Linked DNA regions of Homo sapiens: region 2 is linked to region 1. The links are contacts of gene promoters, found by promoter capture Hi-C in blood cells and fetal thymus (Javierre and others, 2016). All regions are on one chromosome and are shown on one strand. Each heading gives the region's core, a stretch centred on a gene start or on the middle of the fragment in contact. The rest is flanking DNA. Distances are from core to core; before and after follow the strand shown. Region 1 holds the start of RNASE8 (ribonuclease A family member 8). Region 2 overlaps RNASE4 (ribonuclease A family member 4).

Region 1 (4,951 bases), core at 498-2,997:
GAGCAGAGATTGGGCCACTGCACTGCAGCATGGGTGACAGAGTGAGACCCTGTCTCAAAACAAAAAGCAAAAGAAAAAAAAAACCCAAAAAAACCCAGTAACTTTTATGGCAATTTGACAGAGTATTTTATATAAATTGAATCTAGTAATAAAACAATTGAGCTTGTATTTTCTATAGTTATATGTTCTATTTCATTTTCTAGTAATTCATTGTATTGTATTTTACAAAAGTATTGGTCTATGGCCGATTGCATATAAAACTGCTCCTTTACCACAGTTAGTCTTCAGCAATGATTAAGACCAGATCAGGACTCCTAGTAGGTCCTGATTCTGAAATTCCCCAAGGAGGGAAGTTCACTCCAGAACGCTGAGGGTCCTGCTCTGGGTCACGTCGATGAAACATGAACTCTGGTCTTGCGCACACACAAGGGGGTCAGGCCTCAGACCTGACTGGCATCCCAGGGCTCAGCCTGTCCTTCCTGTCACTCTACCCCTTCACATGAGAGGGGGCCACCAGAGAGCCCTCAAGGGGCTGGAGGACAGAATCAAGCCAGCTTCCCAGACTGTGCCTGCTCAGGGTGCTGCTCTCCCTCCGGCCTGCAAGGCAGGTGGAGCTGATGCCTCACAGAAGTAAGTGTTTCAGGGCCTTTTCAGGGCCTTGGAATTGGAGCTCCAAACCTCTCCACTTACCCCAAGACAGTAACACACACTCCATCAGCAACAGCAGAGTCTTTATTACAGCAAGATCAGATGCATTTCTTTGCCCAACACAGGGAACACAGCAGAGATTCCCCTTCCTTCCTTCCTTAGATAATTACCCCTGTCTGGGATCTCCCTGGACTGTCCAGCCACAGCCCTTCCAAGGATCTGACTTATTTACGTTTGTAATTTTATATTCTTTTTCTTTAAGAGGGTCTTTGGTGAGCCACAGGCCTCACCAAACCCAGATCCATCCTTGTGGGGATCCTGAGTGCTTGACTCTGGAAGGGCTGCAAAGTAAGCTACAATGAAAGGCTGAAGAGAATCTGCCCTCTTCTTTCATCGTTTGGAGCGTCTGTAAAACTCCCTAAGAAACCAAGAGTATGTGAGGTTGAGTGTGTGGGAGGGAAATGGCATTTGCAGTGGGGAGCAAGGATTAATAACGAACTGGAGGGAGGAAAAGCAGCAGCATACAGTCTGCAGAGTGTGAGGTGGAACGTGGGCACCAGGGCTTAGACAACTTTATCCAAGTGCACAGGAACAAGTGGGTACCCTGGGTCACCCTGTTGTGGAGGGTCACAGGCCACTATGTAAGGTGTGTTCAGGTGCTTCTCTTTGTACCTGCAGTTTGGGTACTTCCCTGAGGTGAGCTCACCCATGGTCAGGGACATGGGCCCGTGGCTCTGGTGGCAGTTTTTACAGCTATTCTTGCAGGCTATGTTGGGGGTCTGGCAGGTGATGGCCACACTGGAGAAGGGCTCGTGCAGGAAGGTGTTGAGGTCTTTGCACCGTTCTGTGTACTTATTGATGATGCTCATGGCTGAGTTGCATGCTTGAGGGCTGGGCTGCACATGCTGAGTTTTAAACCACTGAGATGATGTCATGTCCTTGGGCTTGGCTCTGACTAGGACCTCTGCCACCCACAGCCCCAGAAGCAGCAGCAGCAGGGGGCAGCATCCTGCTCTGGCCGGTGCCATCTCTCTTAAGGGAGACAGTGGAACAGAGTGAGGAGGTAGGTGGATGAATAGGTCATCATGGGGGAGTCTTGTTAGTCCTTCTAAGAATTTCATACCCTAAGCCAGTTATTGCAGGGCAATGTGCAGCCTAAGATATTGAACACCCCTGGCATTCTATTGTTTAGTACCAGCAGATAATGTGCCTTTTTGTGCCTCTAATAAACACTTACCTTCTTTACCTCTCACAATAGTTTTATGGGTATGATTACCTTCTCACATATATATATATATATATGAATAAAATGAGGCTCAGGAAAGTTAAGAAAATTCCTATTATCCCACAGCTAGAGCGTGTCAAATACAAGATTTTAACCAGGACCTCTCAAGTTCCCTAACTCCTATTCTTCCCACACTCCCAGGTATCTTTTCTGAGACTGTGAGAAATCACAAAGAGAAACTAAATCTTTTTTTTTTTTTGAGATGGAGTTTCGCTCTTGTCGCCCATGCTGGAGTGCAATGGCGCGATCTTGGCTCACTGCAACCTCTGCCTCCCAGGTTCAAGCAATTCTCCTGCCTCAGCCTCCCAAGTAGCTGGGATTACAGGCATGCACCACCACGCCTAGCTAATTTTTTCTATTTTTAGTAGAGACTGGGTTTCTCCATGTTGGTCAGGCTGGTCTTGAACTCCTGACCTCAGGTGATCCACCCACCTCAGCCTCCCAAAGTGCTGGGATTACAGGCGTGAGCCACCGCGCCCGGTTAAGAGAAACTAAATCTTGAAGAAAAACATGTGAAAGGTCAATACCCCACTCTGCTGGACTAGCTTAGGTGTCCCTGAAAGAGTTGTTATTAAGGTCGTGGAGTCAAATGCATTCCTCCCCATTCTGTGGCCCAGTTTCTCACTGAAGTTAGAAAAAATGATCACTCCTAGTGAAGGGATCGCAGCTCCAGCTGTCAAAGCAGCATGGCGAGTTGGGTTCTTTCCATGCCTGACATTTTGCCCTGCTGGAGAATGTCTTGGAAGGATAGAGGGTCAGGGCTGGAAGGGACCTTAGAGTTCATCTCAGTTGACTCCCTCATTTTAAAGATGAGGGAGCTTGAGTTCCTGCAAGGGCAAGTACTCTTTCCAAGGCCGCCGAGTGAGTGGCAGAGCTGGGGCTAAGAGCTTCCTGATGTTCAACCCATCCCTTTGGGCTGGCGCCAAGCTAAAAAGGAAAGAGGAAAGAGTTTCCCATAGGAGCAGAGCAGAGTGAGTGTGTCTCTGTTTGTGGTTTTAGGTGGTGTGTGCTCATTGCCTTAATTTCTTCAGACCCTTCTAAAAACATTTAAGAGAAAGTCTCCTCTTAGAGCAAGAAGGTGAATTCTTTTACACTTTCCCGTGTTTGTTTCTCCTCCTTTTCAATAACGACAACAGGCCTCAGGCTGAGTTTTCAGCTGAAAACAATATCTGGATAGAATTTTTAAAAGTTAGATGATATTCATTACATTTATTTTTACTTCTGTTTACAAAGTAACACTAGTATTCTTTGAAAGATGGCATTACTCAGTTTCATTGTAAAAGAATTATTTAAAATAAATGAGTAAATATATATTTAGCGTATTATTAAAATAATAGGGGTGGTAAGCAGATATTGTGAAAATTGTCAAGGGTTAAAGCAAATGACTGCAGTTGGGGAACTGGCTCTGCACTGCAGTTTCTCAGGTCGGCGATAGTGTGTTGGACTCCCCTCAGTCTCTCAACCTCTGGGATTTGTGTAACTTCTCCACCTTTGGGATAAAGTGCTCTCCAAAATGGCAAAATTTGCCGAGGCTCCTAGTATCTGCATTTCTGAATGTAAAAATTCTGAGATGTTTGTCATCTCAGGCAAACATGGTGGAGGAGCCTTGTTTGCCAGTAGAACTCACCTTTTCCACAGCAGGGATCCCTTCGTGCACTCCTCCCCACAAAGCAAACAAAACATTGATTTTTGAACCCAGGAAAACATTACCCAGAAAGCAGTTGACTTGGGCAGCAGGGAACAAATCTTTCCCTCCCTCTGCACTACTCCCTCCCACCACCCTGTCCCAGGAAGTCATTTCTCTCTTGCAGGCCCTCAGCTGAGCCTCTCCCATTGGGATGGAAGGGTTACCAAGTGATTATTCATTAACGGTTACAGACCCAAGCTGCCAAGCTTTGAAATGAGAGGGTGGGGATGGTAGCAGGAGCCCAGGGCTGGCCTAAACGTTTACTGCCAACCAAGATGACTGACCAGAGACTTTGCAAGCTCTGATTCCAAATACGTTGCAAACATGCTTTCCCTGAAGTAGGTACTGGCCCATGCAGCTGGCCAGCCTCACTCAGGGAGGCCTGGGAATGGGGTTCCTTTGATTGTGTGTTTTGATCCTAGTCATTCATCATGAGTTTTCCCCACTGCCACAGCCTCAGGGCTGTTTTATCCATTAAGCACTTGAGGCTCAGTGCTTAGAATCTGGGAGGTTTCTAAGGGCCTACAACATTTGAGACTGGGAAAAATATATTGGCTCCAATACAGGAAAAGTCAAATATAGAATCAAATAAAAAATATTTACTTACCTGCTACTAAAGTAGCATGAAGTTGATTTCACTTATTTTGAAATTTGGGACACATAAAAATCTCACTACATTGGAAAACAATCTTTGGTTAGTTTTCTAATTTTGTAGGAATTCCTAAGTACCTGGAAACCTTGAATGCAGAAGGAACAGTGCCAGTCACAACTTACTTGCAGTCAAATAATTTCAAAAGTAAAACTTTAAAAATCTTTTCAGATACATTTCTGCAGAAACAATATTGAATGAGGAATATATATCTTACATATTCAAAGTAGTGTGGCGAGTGGTAAAATGCTTAGGAGTATGGTAGGATAGAGTATACTATTTACTACCTACTAAAGGCAGCCAGGATAACATACACCGCATTGCTTATGGTTCAGGTCAGCACAGGGCTGTACAGCAGCAGCAGGAGGAAAGAGATGCTACCAAGCATCATTTAATTAGCATCTAAAATGTGCTCGGTACAGTTCTAGGTTCTTGGTGGAAAGTAAAGAACCTCATTTTAAAAGGTGCTTCACGAGCCAAAGCATTGTGCTTTGTGTACAACTTTATATATAAACTGTATTGTGTGTTCCACAATATTATCCCAATTTTACAGAAAAGGAAACTAAGGTTCTGGCAGGTTAAGATCCACAGATTTAGTAAGTGGCAGGGCCGGGATTTGAAATTCGGTTCTGTTTGGCTCCAAAGTTCATGTTATCTTTCCTTGCCACACTGCTTTCCTGTT
Region 2 (5,243 bases), core at 681-3,180, 360 kb after region 1:
ACAGTAAAGTGTCTAAGGGTTGTTGCCAAATGGGCCATGAACTGGGCTGGGTTTTTATATTTGATAAAAAAAAAAAAAAAAAAGCCTAAATGCTAACTCATTTGGGAGAGGTTGGATAAAGAAAAAGGAGCATTAACCTTGACTGTACCTTCAGCTCCAGCCACCTCTTTAAGAGGAAATTTTTGGGCAGGTTGGGGAGAGCTAGTCATGGAATGAAACTGTAAGCTGGACCAGGTGTGAGGAGGGGAGGTGATAAAAGGATTATAGGGTGGGGGAGCAGAGGGTGAGGAAGAATCAGGACCTGGCTTGGCCTGGCTGGTGAGCAGCAGCCTGGGGAGGAGGGAAGAGGTCAGATGGGTCTGTAGAAAAGGAGAATTCAAAGGACTCAGAGCTTGGGGTGGAGACTGAAGAAACAGACAGGAGAGAAAGAAGAAAGATTTGGGACAAGTCACATTGGGAGCAGAGACTAGGGAGGGACTGATGTGTAAAAGAATGCCTGGATGTCAGGCACCTCAGACTATTTCCCCATTTTTCGACAAAAATCATCTAGATCTTGTAAGATGGAGAAATCAAAAGTGCCGTTTTCTGGCCATTTGGAACCATTGTTGGGTTTGTATTAGGGCCAAACGGTATTGCAGAAGAAAATAAGGCATTTAGGTTTTAGGTCAGGTGTGAGTTGAAGAGGTTTTAAGTTCTTGAGAACACAGGCTAAGGGAGAAGAAGGGGGAATGCAGGGTGGAAGGTTGCCCACAGTGAAGAAGTAAGTTTAAAGAGAAAGGTAGAGACACAGCAAAGGGGGTGGTGAGCAGCCCTGGGCTATAACGTGGACGATCAGCCAAAGCAGGCATCCCGCGATTGACTTGCCATCAAGGGAATGTGGGTGAATGACCATGGCAGGTGTCCCCACAGTGATCAGACACCAATGGAATGTGGGTGAATGATCAGGGCAGGCATCCCCACAATGATCAGACGCCAAGGGAAGACTATCTTCCCGAGTCCGTGACTGGTGTCTGAGTTTTGGGTCCATGGATAAAATGCGTCTCCTTTGTCTCTACTAGAGAGGAAAGAGAACTGGAATTGGAAGGACAGGGAGATTGAAGGGTAGCAAGAGAGGCTGGAGAAGACAGTGAAAAGACCGCTTACCCAATTTGAAATGGGTGAGATGTTCCTTGGGCTGGTTGGTCTGAGGACCTGAGGTCATAGGTGGACCTCCTCATGGAGTGAAGGCGAGGACAGGGGACCAGTCTCCTGAAGGAGTCCCCCTGTTCTGGGTCTTCGGCACTAAATGCCACACGCGTCCATGTGAAGAGACCACCAAACAGGCTTTGTGTGAGCAATAAAGCTTTTTAATCACCTGGGTGCAGGCAGACTGAGTCCAAAAAAGGAGTCAGCAAAGGGAGATGGGGTGGGGCAGTTTTATAGGATTTGGGTTGGTAGTGGGAAATTACGGTCAAAGTGGGTTATTCTCTAGCGGGCAGGGGCGGGGGTCACAAGGTGCTCTGGTGGGGAGCTCCTGAGTCTAATTGTCCAGGAGAAGGAATGTCACAAGGCTAATTGATCAGTTAAGGTGGGGCAGGAACAAATCACAGTGGTGGAATGTCATCAGTTAAGGCAGGAATTGGTTATTTTCACTTCTTTTGTGGTTCTTCAGTTGCTTCAGGCCATCTGGATGTATACGTGCAGGCTTGGGCTCAGAGACCTGACAGCTCCCTAATTTGCTTCTAAATATTCTAAGGGAGAAGGAAGAGCTGTGAGAATTGTCTTTGAGAGGAATCATTCTCTCTGGAGTAAATGAGACAAATCTTCTGTGTTGTGGTCATGGATCTGATAGGCATTAGTCTTTGACCAGAGTTTATGAGGTTATTAAGGTGCATGCATGTTTATAAACTAAACAAGAATTTAAAAGTCAGAGAAAAAAAATAATACCATAGCACAGTCTTCTCAGGTACCTTCGGTTTAGGTCCTTTATTACAAGGAAAACATAAAAAATCTTTCAATCAGTAAGAGCACATAAGTCTTAATGATCTAGTACATTTTTTAGTACTTTGACTTACTAGGGTGATTCAAAGTTTCAGGAAAAAGAAAATTCCCAGTATCATTTTCTTAATCTTATTAAACCCAAACATAAGAATGCCAAAAAATACAGAGCTCACATTTTGCTGGCATACATTTCCAAATTTTTAATGCCTCCCTGACAGGTGAATTTTAAGGATAAAAAAAGCAGACACTTTCAAAACATTCCTTGTGATGAAGTAGAAAAAGCCCTGGATAAGTGGCCAGCTACACTGGATTTTTGTCTCAATTCTTCCATTAACTTTACAGTCTTCAGCAAATCCCTTAACTTTGAGCTTCTATATGTAGTGACATCATTATAAGTGCTGTGGTATTAAAATGTGATAAACATAGATGAAAGCATTTTGAAATGTTTGAAATACTACATAAATACACATAATAACTAAATTCCACAGGATAGGATCTGAGAGAGCTAAGCTGACCAGTATTATAAAAGGAAGCTTATTACAGAAAAGCCCAGCCTCATTCATTACAGGTTTATGTCTCCATATCTCTTTGGTGCAATGTATTTAATAGAATGAGTTATATAGAGAAAAAGAGTAGGAAATGAGCTGAGGAGACAGAGCCTGGGACAGCTCAAATGCATTACTCACTGCTATTTAAGGAGTAAGTGTAAGGTCAACCACTCGCGATAATCCCTACATGGTGGCATCTAACCGTCAAAGTGCACAGGCACCTGTGGGTTACCCTCACAGGCAATGACAACACGTCTAGTGCTCGCTATGGCCCGATATCTGCAGTTGGGTGCCCTGGAACTTCCTGTGTCCCTGCAATCTGTGACCTTCACTACACCCTCATGGCAGTTCATCTTGCCGTTCTTGCATTGGATATTGGTGGTGCTGCAGATACTACGAATGTTCCAGATATCTTCATGGATGAAGGTGTTGAAGCGCTTGCAGTGATACAAAGTCATCTTCCGTCTTTGCATCATCAAGTTGCAGTAGCGATCACTGCCACCTGTCTCCTCAGGGTGCACGTGTTGCCGCAGGAATCGCTGGTACATGCCATCCTGGCCATAGGAGGGCTGGACCAGCCCCAGCCCCAGCAGGGTCAGCAGCAAAAGCAGAAGCAATGAATGGGTCCTCTGCAGAGCCATCAGTATCTTAGAGGTGCCTAGAAAAGAAAGCAAGGGGCAGGAGAAATAAGGTAAGAACTGGGCACTGGAAAAAGGTGTTGAGAATAGCAAGCCGGCATCCTGACTCCATAGTCTCCTCTTTCCTCCTTCTTATATGCACCATCTCCCCACTCATCTCTGCTACTTTTCCCACCCTTCTTCCTCAAGAGTGAGTAGTTTGCAAACATGATCTTTTCTGAAAGCAAGACCTTTCTCATTTACAGAGAGAAGTTGCTGTGGCCAGTACAATGACACAGGGCAGGGACTGACTGCGTGGCTGCCAGGTTTGTGTGGACAGAGTATAAAAAGAGAGAAAAGGTGAACCTACATGAAACTGCAGTTGTGTGTCTCTTGGGGGAACTCCGTAGGTGTATGATCTTTGGGGAGTGTTTGGTTCCCGGGAGGCTCCAATTCCCGACAGTTTGGATAGACTCAGCATACGTCACAGAAAGTTTACAAACTACTTTTAATACCTTACATCTGGGAATCTAGGTGGAGGAAGAGGACAGAGGAATATTTAGGCTTTGCCTTTCCTCTCACATGACTATTGTTTTTCTTTGTCATTAATTTTATTATTTTTCTTTTCTTTTTTGTCATGTGGCTATTATTCTAATGTGATTTAAAATCTATTCTAATTCTAGAATAATATATGTTATACATTAATTTAAAATGTATTATTCTAATTCTAATGTAAAATCAGGTCCTTTTGGAAATCCTTTTAATTCTATTTTTTAAAAAAAAGCAAAACCAGAATACCCAGTTACAGTTCTTAGAAGACAGTTGATAATAGCTACTGTTTGAATGAACTAATAAGTGAAATGAGTAAGCTAATGAACAAATGCAATTAAATGGATAGAGTAAAGATGTTTCCCAGGCTTATGAAATTGACTAATAAGAAAAGCTAAGAAATGTTTAAAAAATAAATTTAAACAGCACAATATTCTCAAAAGAAAACTTGGATTGTGTCTTCTTCTCCTTGCTGTTTCTATGCATAACCTAAAAAATCTAGGCCATGGAGATACATTGCTTTGTCTTGCATCTATTCTTGATGTTCCTTCTGTCTTGTCAATAGTTGTTGGTAGCTGTCTGTCTTCTCTGGTTGCAGCATCATTGTGTTGTCACCTCTTGGCAGTGAAAAATAGGCATATATTTTATAGCATTAAAAAAAAAAGCCAGAGTGGCAACAAAAAAAGCATTGCCATGTAGTTTCAGAACATTCATTGCTTTCATTGACAGATTAAAGAAAGGAATCCAGGCCTATCTTAGTCTACACCCTGTGCTCTTTCCACTATCTACTGCCTCTCTCATCCCACACCCAAAATATTCAGGATATCAAAGACATTTATGCTCAGAATTGCTACTTCCCAGCAGCAGAGTTTAATCAAGACTGGAGGTGGACTCACTCACCAACTGACTAGCCAGATGCTGCCATCTGGCCGTCACTCCTGGAATTGATGTGAATTGTGAATCGGCTTGATTCTTGCAGTGTAGCAGGGCTGATTCACTACAGCAAAGAAAAATCATCCCTGATTCAATAGGAAGTGAGCAACGCAAATTAGCAAGGGCAATGTTTTGAGAGTCAGGCAGCCCAACTCTGTATGTGCAGTCCAAGGACTGACCCCAGTTGAACTCCTAGTTTGATGTATATGGGTACTATTGTCTTTTGATTTCAAATTCTGCTTCGTAATGGTGGATCACACTGTGTGAATGACTGAAATGGCTTCCAAACGACCTGTACCTTACTTTGTTCTGCTGAAAGGCTACCTTTTCATTATTGATAATGAAAGCAGTATCAAACATGGATATTGTTCTTTTAAATGCCACCTCCTATATCCATAGCCATCTTTTGCCTTTGCACATAAAGATATCAAGCTGTATGTCATATCTGTGTGCCTGCAGCTGTAGATGTGAGATACAGTGTTAGGAAGAGAGGGAAGTAAAGAGGTTGTGGGAGGAAGGGCAGATGTTTGATTTCCTTTTTGCCCCAAGAACAATGCATACAACTTCTGAAGGTATACTTAGTACTTGGATTATAGCTTCAGCAGATCAATATACT

Evidence for each region. The method cuts DNA at HindIII sites, captures the fragments that hold promoters and counts their contacts. A CHiCAGO score of 5 or more calls a contact.
Region 2: a contact is called between a fragment that was not itself captured here and the fragment with the promoter of RNASE8 in region 1, in 1 of 17 cell types (M2 macrophages). The highest score is 5.0, in M2 macrophages.

What each region holds. Positions count from the first base shown.
Region 1 is chr14:21,054,618-21,059,568 of GRCh38, reverse strand. It overlaps RNASE8 (ribonuclease A family member 8), which reads right to left and starts at 1,747. Exons shown (of 1, transcript NM_138331.2): 1 at 1,114-1,747. The coding sequence starts at 1,676. The coding sequence ends at 1,212. It also overlaps a transcript of NDRG2 not described here. The HindIII fragment of the contact is 6,358 bases long and covers 1-3,828 here.
Region 2 is chr14:20,697,298-20,702,540 of GRCh38, reverse strand. RNASE4 (ribonuclease A family member 4) reads right to left here. Exons shown (of 2, transcript NM_002937.5): 2 at 1,325-3,186. The coding sequence starts at 3,169. The coding sequence ends at 2,726. It overlaps EGILA (EGFR interacting lncRNA), which reads left to right. Exons shown (of 4, transcript NR_174964.1): 2 at 3,043-3,219; 3 at 3,412-3,505. Among named protein-coding and RNA genes, the nearest start is that of EGILA, 7.0 kb to the left of the region's middle. RefSeq lists a silencer at 2,725-2,890. The HindIII fragment of the contact is 1,171 bases long and covers 1,345-2,515 here.